Linked DNA regions of Homo sapiens: region 1 is linked to region 2. Evidence: promoter capture Hi-C in 16 types of primary human blood cells and fetal thymus (Javierre and others, 2016). All regions are on one chromosome and are shown on one strand. Each heading gives the region's core, a stretch centred on a gene start or on the middle of the fragment in contact. The rest is flanking DNA. Distances are from core to core; before and after follow the strand shown.

Region 1 (2,500 bases), core at 1-2,500, 79 kb before region 2:
CAGGGCCTGGCCAAGCCAGGCTGAAAGCCTGGGGCCTCACCTTGGCACCAGGCAGACCAGCTTCACCGGGACGACCAGCTTCACCAGGAGATCCTTTGGGGCCAGCAGGGCCAGGAGAACCACGTTCACCAGCGGGACCCTGGTTGGGGGAAGTCACAGGAACAGTTAGGGTCTCAAGTTTGTGGCTCTTTGCCACGGGCCAAAAGAGGAAGAAGATGCCCAGGGAGCGGCAGGGTCAGCCCCCCGGCCGCAAGGAGAGGTTACCTTGGGACCAGCAACACCATCTGCGCCAGGGAAACCACGGCTACCAGGTCCACCCTGCAGGAGGAGAGGAGGCCAGTGAACTCCGCGACACACAGGCACCAGCCAGGCAATGAGGGTGGAGCGGGAGGGGGCGGGCAGGGACACTTACACGCTCGCCAGGGGGTCCGGGCAGGCCAGTGGGTCCGGGTTCACCTCGAGCTCCTCGCTTTCCTTCCTCTCCAGCAGGGCCAGGGGGTCCTTGAACACCAACAGGGCCCTGGAGAGGGCCGAGAGGAGGAGGCGGCCTGTGGTGAGGGGCCATCCTGTGCCAGCCTCAGAGCCGGCTGAGGCTGGGCCTCCAGTGTCAGGGGTTCCTGGGGGTGTGGCAGGGACTCCCCCAGAAGACTAGGGGCTCCTCTTCCTTTCTGGATTTCCCTCAGGGGGCTCCTAGGGCAGGGTGGGCTGGGCTGCAAGAAGGATGGCGGGGAGACTTACAGGCTCTCCCTTAGCACCAGTGTCTCCTTTGCTGCCAGGAGCACCAGGTTCACCCTGCAAGGGGGGAGAAGAGGATGAGCTGAGAGTCGGGGGCGCTCAGTTGGCCTGCGTCTTCCTGCTCCCCAGATGAGAGCCGCACTGGAGCCAGTGCATGGGGTGGGCAGAAGGGAGAGTTTGGTACTCACGCTGTTACCCTTGGGACCAGGAGGGCCGCCGGGGCCCTGGGGTCCAGAGGGGCCTCGGGCACCAGGGAAGCCAGGAGCACCAGCAATACCAGGAGCACCCTGTGGGAGGCAGACAGCCAGGGCGTGAGCCTAGGAGCAGAGGGAAAGGGGCAGGCAGGCTGCAGGCGGCAGGAGTGGGACTGAAGCCTGGCAGGATACTTACATTGGCACCTTTAGCACCAGGCTGTCCATCAGCACCAGGGTTTCCCTGTGGCACAGAGAAAGGAGTGTCAGCAACAGGCAAGGACTCTGAGGTTAGAAAGTGGCAAAGGGGACACTGAGTCGGGGACACTTACAGCAGGGCCAGCAGCACCAGCAGGGCCAGGGGGGCCAGGCTCACCACGCACACCCTGGGGACCTTCAGAGCCTCGGGGCCCTTGGGGACCAGCTTCACCCTGAATCAGAAGAAAGGACATATCAGAAGCCACCCTGGGAAACCCAACCTTGCCTCTCGGGATGGCAGGAGGAAGGGGAGACAGGGACAGGAGAGCAATGATCAGGACTCTAAGATCAGAGACGGAGAACCCAGGACAAAGGTGTTAGTGAACGGGCTGCTCTCTTGCCACTCTGGGTCCCTTTGGTTTGGGGAACAGGGAGACATGAACCCCTTGGCCCATGAGGGTCATGCTTAGAGGAGAGTGGGGGGTCTCACCTTAGCACCAACAGCACCAGGGAAGCCAGGAGGACCAGCGGGGCCGGTGGGACCCTGTGAATGAAATGGAGATGTCAGCGAGAAGGAAGAGATGGCAGCTGCAAGTCACACCCTGGGACAGAGGAAGTCCTGGGGTTCAGACCAACATAACCTGCTCCCATTGTCAGCCCCAAGAGCAGATACTGAGACCCCTCCCCACTCCCAGGCCCTGAGGCCTACAGGCCACACTCACAGGGGGCCCGGCAGCACCAGTAGCACCATCATTTCCACGAGCACCCTGCAGGAGAGAGGGGAAGCCCCGTTAAGTCCACTGAGCACTGGCCAGTCCCTAGAGTTCCTGGGGAGCCCCTTCCAGAGCTCAGGGATCCCCCAAGGGGCCAGGAGTACTTACAGCAGGGCCAGGGGCTCCAGGGCGACCTCTCTCACCAGGCAGGCCACGGGGGCCCTGACAACCAAACCAAGAGAAGTCAGATGAGATGGGAGACAGCCTTGTTCCCCCAGGCCTCCATCTTGCCCCTGCCTCCTGCCCCATCCCTGCCCTCTGGAACTGGGCACACTCACCATCTGACCAGGAGCTCCATTTTCACCAGGGCTGCCAGGCTCACCCTGTAGATCAGAGAATAATGAGTGAGAAATTCATTCATGGTGGGACTCTGGGGATGTGGAGGACCATGATGTTCAGACAGCCTCTTACCTTAGGACCAGCAGGACCAGCATCTCCCTTGGCACCATCCAAACCACTGAAACCCTAAAGCAGGAAAGAGGTAGAAGGTAAGAACCTGTGGAGGGGGTGGAACAGCCTTGACATCCACCTAGATCTGAGAAAGAGCCTTGGGAGGTCATCACCGCCATCCCTTTGTTTCTGAGCTAGACTAAACCCCAACTG
Region 2 (5,973 bases), core at 3,055-5,554:
ACTGTTATCCAACTCCTCCCTCTCCTTCCTGTTGAGAGAGGCCCAGAGAAGTTCCATTTCTCGTCTAAGGTCACACAGCACAACATATTCAGTGGCACACTGACTAACACGACACAATACTGCCCCTACAGGCAGAGCCGGGCTAGAGCAGAGCATTCTGCTGGCTTTGAAAAGAGATCCCAGCCTAGTGCCATCAGCCATTACAGATATTAGTGTCCACCAAAGTATGGGGGTGGGGGGGACTGCCAAGTAAAACAGAATTCACCCTGGCTCTTCCCCTTCACCCAAGCCTGGCCCCCTGGGCTGGGCTGAGCCAGGCTAGGCGAGGCCACCCACCCTGAGTGATCCTCCATCCAGAGCAGTGGAGCAGGGCTCCCCAGGCCCGAGGTGAGTGCCACCTGTGCTGGGTGTGGCGTCTTGAGCGCTGCATGGTTCTGATCCTGACTCAGCCCCTCATGTCCTGTGCGACCTGGCCTTCCCGCTCTCCAGGCCCTGGTTGCCTCCTCTGAGAAGGGCGTAAGTGGGCCGGCTGGCCTCGGAGGCCCCTCCTTCCAGCTGGGCCCCGGCAGGATGCACAATCAGCTCATTCTTTAGTGAATGCACTGGGGGCCCAGCGAGCGTTTATGAAGACATTTCGAAGTGGCTGCTCTTGGGAAACCCCAGATGGAATTTGGTGTTGAATCTAGGGGGCCGCTGACTACATGAGGCCTCTGGGTTTCTGTGCTCGTGTATGCCTGAGCACCTGCACACGCTGCCCTCCTGGTGCTAGGTGACGTGCCAAACAGAAGATGCTGGCCTTGTCCAGGACCCTCCTTCCTCTAGAACAGCCCTTCTCTGCTCAGTCTAGGGGGGTCCATGGTGCTCCCACCCCCTTCTGACCTCACCCACCAAAAATCCGAGGGCCCTGGGGCCATGATGAATGCTAACAGGCCCTGGTGTTCTTGGCCTGGCCTGGGACCACCCACTTCCAGGCTCCTCATCTTGTCCCCATCTGCAGGAAGGAACGTAGGGCAGTTTGGTGTCATGGAACTGGGGGCCCAGCCGAGGGGCTCAAGAGCCCTTCAGACTCTGCCTGGTGAGTCAAGTGCTAAGGACCTCACTTCTTCATTGGAAGATGTGGGGTGGGGGTGGAGTTTGTTCCTAGGACATTGTAGCGATGTGGATAGCATTGCCAGATTTTGTTTTGTTTTGTTTTTCTTTTTAGAGCGAGGGTGGTGCTCTGTCACCCAGGCTGGAGTGTAGTGGTGTGATCTCAGCTCACTGCAGCCTTGAACTCCTAGGCTCAAGTGATCCTCCTACCTCAACCTCCAGAGTAACTGGGACTACAGGTACATGCCACCACACCGGCTTAATTGCTTTTGTTTTCTTTGTTTGCAGAGACAGGGTCTTGCTATGTTGCCCAGGCTGGTCTCAAACTCCTGGGCTCAAGTGATCTTCCTACCTCGGCCTCTCCAAGTGCTGGGGTTATAAGCGTGAGCCACTGTGCCTGGCCTGGTTGCCAGTTTTAACAAAGAAAAACACAGAACATCCCATTAAATGTGAATTTCAGATAGAAAAGTAAATTTTAGCATAAGTATGTCTCAAATATTGCATGGGCCCAGGTGTAGTAGCTCACGCCTGTAATCCCAACACTTTGGGAGGCCAAGGTGGGCATATCACTTGAGGCCAGGAGTTGGAGACCAGCCTGGCCAACAAGGTAAAACCCTGTCTCTACTAAAAATACAAAAAATTAGCTGGACATAGTGGCACATGCCTGTAATCCCAGCTACTTGGGAGGCTGAAGCATGAGAATTGCTTGAATCTGGGAGGTGGAGGTTGCAGTGAGCTCACACCACTCCATTCCAGTCTTGGTTCTCAAAAAATATATATATATTGCATGGGACATAATTATACTAAAATGAAATTATTCATCGTTTATCTGAAATTTGGATTTACCTGGGCCTCCTGTCTTTTGTCCGGCAACCCTAGATCTGGGTCAGGTTGATGCCAGAGACCCAGAGAGCAGCTATGCCAGCCTCCTCCCCCTCCTCCTGCCCCTCTTCAGGGCACTGGTGCCCGCCTAGTTCCCTCACCCCCACTCCTGCTGACCCCCCACATCTGTCCCTTGAGTTCCCACATGCCCTTCTCAGCACCCTCATTTCACCCCGCAGGGTATCTTCCTCCTCTAAGCTCAACCATTTTCCCATTTTCCTCTCCCGTAAGGGCCACACCTCTGTAGGGCTCCCAGCCTGGGCAGGATAGCAGGGAGTGTGGGGTAGAGACCCCAGGCCTTGCTGTTGCAGTGGGGCCTGGGTGGGGACAAGAAGAACCCTGGCAGCCCAAGTTGGCAACGACTCAAGAGGTGGAGGCTCCAGCACTCTCAGGACGAGGTCCCCCTGCCAAGGTCCACCTGCAGGGGAGGAGGGGAGACGGCGGCCCCTTCCCTTCTCCAAGCTCACAGTCACTTCAAATACAGAGGGGCCAGATCCCAATACCCCTCGGATCAGGAGACTAGAAGATTATCTTCTTAAGGGGCAAAAAGGGCTAGGAGGTAATGGGAAATAGAGACAGGGAAAGGGAGAGAGAGAGCAGGGAGACAGCATAAGAAACAGACCGAGAGACTGGGGGTGCAGGACCAAACCAGGGACAAGGAGAAGGGACCAGAGAAACCGAGAAAAACAGACGCCTCCGCCGAGGCAGACAGAGGTGAACAGAGAGAGGAGAAACAGACGGGAGAACAGAGGGAAAGGCTGGGAACTCGAGAGAAACTGGGTGCGGACAGATGGGAAGAAACCGAAACAGAAAAACAGAGGCTGGGAGAAACGGGGAGAGACACAGAGGGGTTAAATATAAGACAGAGAACATGACTGGGAGAGATGAGGGAGAAGGGTGAGAGGCAGAGAGCAAGGAAAGAGAAGAAACGCCCACGACGTCGGGGGTGTTTTTCAGGGGTCAAGACAGATTGGCGACACAGCAGGAGGCGCCCAAGGACATGACGTTGAGCCTCTCAGGGTCCCCCTTGGCCGGGCCAGGGAGCAGCGCCCCACGCTCCATCACCCCCTCTCCCCCTCCCGCGGTCCTGGCTGCACTGCTCCTGCCTCGCCCTCGCCCAGCGCCCCCAGCCCACAAGCCCCGGCCGCGCCCCTCCCGGCTCCCGGGGGCACCCGCGCTGGGCGACGCTGCCACCTGCCGGCCGCTCCCGGAAGCTCCGCGCCTGGAGTGCTGGAGGCGGCGGCCGCAGGGGGCTCAGAATCAGGCCCCTCCGCACTGGGGCGGCCTCCGCGGGGTCTTTCCAGGAATCTGGATGGGCCTGCTCGCCCGCGCCCCGGCGGGCCTGGCAGAGGACCAGCCCCAGCTGCGGACCCCGGGGCAGTCTAAACCCTGGGGCCTTGAGTTCCCGTTTTGTCAATGGGAGAAAATGCACCAACACCTCCTGTAGGATTTCAAGAGGGGAGGGGACACGAAGGTACCCACGTTGTGCTCCTGGTCTTCCTTCCTCGACCTGGAAATCTCAGGGCACTCTGAAATCAGCCAGGCTGCTCTGTCCCTCCCTTTTTGGTCAAAACACAATGGGGTGATATCCCCCAACCATAACCCCTCAAAATCTACCCTAGAACCTTCGCCTTCCCCTCCCTCAACCTCTGCCCCCATTTGACTTCTCACCAGACCCAGAGGTCCAGATAAGAAGGGGCTTCCACGTCCCCTTCCCACTCCCGCCGGTCCCGGCACCCCTCCCTGGAGTCTGGGGCACTTAGGAGTGGAGGAGTTGGGAGTTAGGAAGGCCCAGCTCAGCGGTGTGGAGTTGATCCCACCTCTTTTTAAATTTAGGTTATTTATTTATTTATTTATTTATTTAGAGATGGAGTCTCACTCCGTCGCCCAGGCTGGAGTGCACTGGCACGATCTCGGCTCACTGCAACCTCTGCTTCCCGGGTTCAAGCGATTCTCCTGCCTCAGGCTCCTGAGTAGTTGGGATTACAGGCACCCGCCACCACGCCCGGCTAAATTTTGTATTTCTAGTGGAGACGGGGGGTCTCACCATGTAGGCCAAGCTGGTCTCGAACTCCTGACCTGAAGTGATCCTCCCAAAGTGCTGGTATTACAGGCGTGAGCCACCGCGCCCGGGACCGCTTTTTTAAAAATCCGTTAATCTCTTCTACCTCCCAAATCCCAAAACCCAACCCAGACCTCTGCGCCTCCCTTCCTCCCTTCCTCCTCCCAGCCCCTCCCTGCCCCGAGTCCGCCTCTCCCGGTGCAGCTCCGCCCCCATCCCGAGGCGGGGCCCCATAGGTGGAGAGAAGTGGGAGAGGTCGCAGCCCCGCCTTCTCTACACAGGAAAGCTCAGTGGCCCCCAAGCCAGGATGTCCCAAGCTTGGGTCCCCGGCCTCGCGCCCACCTTGCTGTTCAGCCTGCTGGCTGGCCCCCAAAAGGTGAGACTGGGAGGTAAGGTTGTTGAACTTTTGGGCCCTACCCTTGTAGGTCAGGAGCCTGCTTCTGGAGCCTGGTCGCCACCTTCCAGAATCAGGATTTCCTCCTGACCACACACAGTTAGCTACTTCCTTTCTCTCTTTGCTGTGGAGGTGGAGGTGGGGGCAGCGGAGGAGGCTCTGGGAGAGGCTGGGTTCTCCCACCTCTGAGGGGGATCCTGTGGTGGGAAGTGGCCACCACCCACCACCTTATCTGACACCTAGCACGTCTCTGTGAATAGGGACTTTGGACCCCTTATTAGCCTCAGCTTATCCTTCCAGCTCCTTCCCGCCTGAGCTTTGGACACCTGGGCCAGCACTTAGCCCCAGCTCAGTTCCTCCAGTGCTGGGGGACCCTGGGATGTCCCCACCCTCTTTGGGACTGTGTCTCTGCTTGTTCCCTAGGGGAGAGAAGGCTCTTTTGTCCCCTTCTAGGGGTAAGTAATCCCAGCCTGTGGTGGGATTTGACCTGGCTGCCTGACCAAGGCTGGGGTGACCTCTGAAATCTGTGATTTTGAGAGGGAGGTGTAGGGTTCGAGTGTTCCCTCCGCCCTTCTGTTCCTCCCAAGTAAACTCTACAGGTGATGGGGGAAAGCTGTCCGGTCCTGGGATGGGTGTTTATCCTGGGAACAGAGACGGGTCTAGAACATGCATTTGTGTCTTATTTCCATTTAAGAACCGGAGGGAAGTCAGGGTCTTCCATAGTTAGGATTTTAGAACAGGGCACCTTCACACATCTGGGCTGAGCTTTCAGAGAGGCTCTGCCAAAACCCTTCCGTGGACCCGGGTTAGTGAGCAAGGTGTTCCTTCTAAATCACTGGGCGGTCAGTTTGTGTCAATGCTGGGCTGGGCATCCTCTGGTTTACCCCTCCCACCAACCCCAGGGGCGAGGTGCTGTTAATACCTTCAATTCTGGAGTTAAGTAAGCTGAGATTTACTTACTCCCAGCCCAAGACCACCCTGACGCTCCATAAAACTCAGCCTCTGAACCACCCCAGACAAGACTACCCCCTGGTTAAAATGTGGGGAGACAATCTGGGAGAAGAGCTCCTCCCCCTCCCAAACCGGAACTTGAGATTAATTTACTAAACCTGTTAATTATCCATTACTTATTAGCTGGGGTCCAGGAAAAGGACAAGGGCCAGAGTGGGGTCTGAGGGGGAAGGGGTGCTGTTGAGTGCCTGGATGGACCCCTCGATTTGTCTCCAAGTTCCCTCTCTGTATATATATATTTTTAATTTAAAGAATAGAGGCCAGGCGCAGTGGCTCACGCCTGTAATCCCAGCACTTTGAGAGGCCGAGGCAGGCAGATCGTGAGGTCAGGAGTTTCAGACCAGCCTGACCAACAACCCCATCTCTACTAACAATACAAAAATTAGCCAGGCATGGTGGCACGTGCCTGTAATCCCAGCTACTTGGGAGGCTGAGGCAGGAGTATCACTTGAACCTGGGAGGCGGAGGTTGCAGTGAGCCGAGATCGCACCACTGCACTCCAGCCTGGGCAACAGAGCTAGACTCCATCTCCAAA

What was found. The method cuts DNA at HindIII sites, captures the fragments that hold promoters and counts their contacts. A CHiCAGO score of 5 or more calls a contact.
Region 1: a fragment that was not itself captured here is called in contact with the fragment with the promoter of TMEM92 in region 2 in 17 of 17 cell types (M1 macrophages, M0 macrophages, megakaryocytes and 14 more); the score reaches 23.3 in M1 macrophages.

The regions. Positions count from the first base shown.
Region 1 is chr17:50,194,309-50,196,808 of GRCh38, forward strand. COL1A1 (collagen type I alpha 1 chain) reads right to left here. Exons shown (of 51, transcript NM_000088.4): 12 at 2,309-2,362; 13 at 2,176-2,220; 14 at 2,006-2,059; 15 at 1,847-1,891; 16 at 1,615-1,668; 17 at 1,259-1,357; 18 at 1,126-1,170; 19 at 924-1,022; 20 at 739-792; 21 at 413-520; 22 at 265-318; 23 at 41-139. Among named protein-coding and RNA genes, the nearest start is that of COL1A1, 6.1 kb to the right of the region's middle. RefSeq lists an enhancer at 2,033-2,500. The HindIII fragment of the contact is 9,239 bases long and covers 1-2,500 here.
Region 2 is chr17:50,270,162-50,276,134 of GRCh38, forward strand. It overlaps TMEM92 (transmembrane protein 92), which reads left to right and starts at 4,305. Exons shown (of 5, transcript NM_153229.3): 1 at 4,305-4,409. The coding sequence starts at 4,341. It overlaps LOC124904028 (a long non-coding RNA gene), which reads left to right. Exons shown (of 3, transcript XR_007065846.1): 2 at 998-1,075; 3 at 1,205-1,242. RefSeq lists silencers at 2,910-3,249, 4,387-4,681. The HindIII fragment of the contact is 4,587 bases long and covers 1-4,348 here.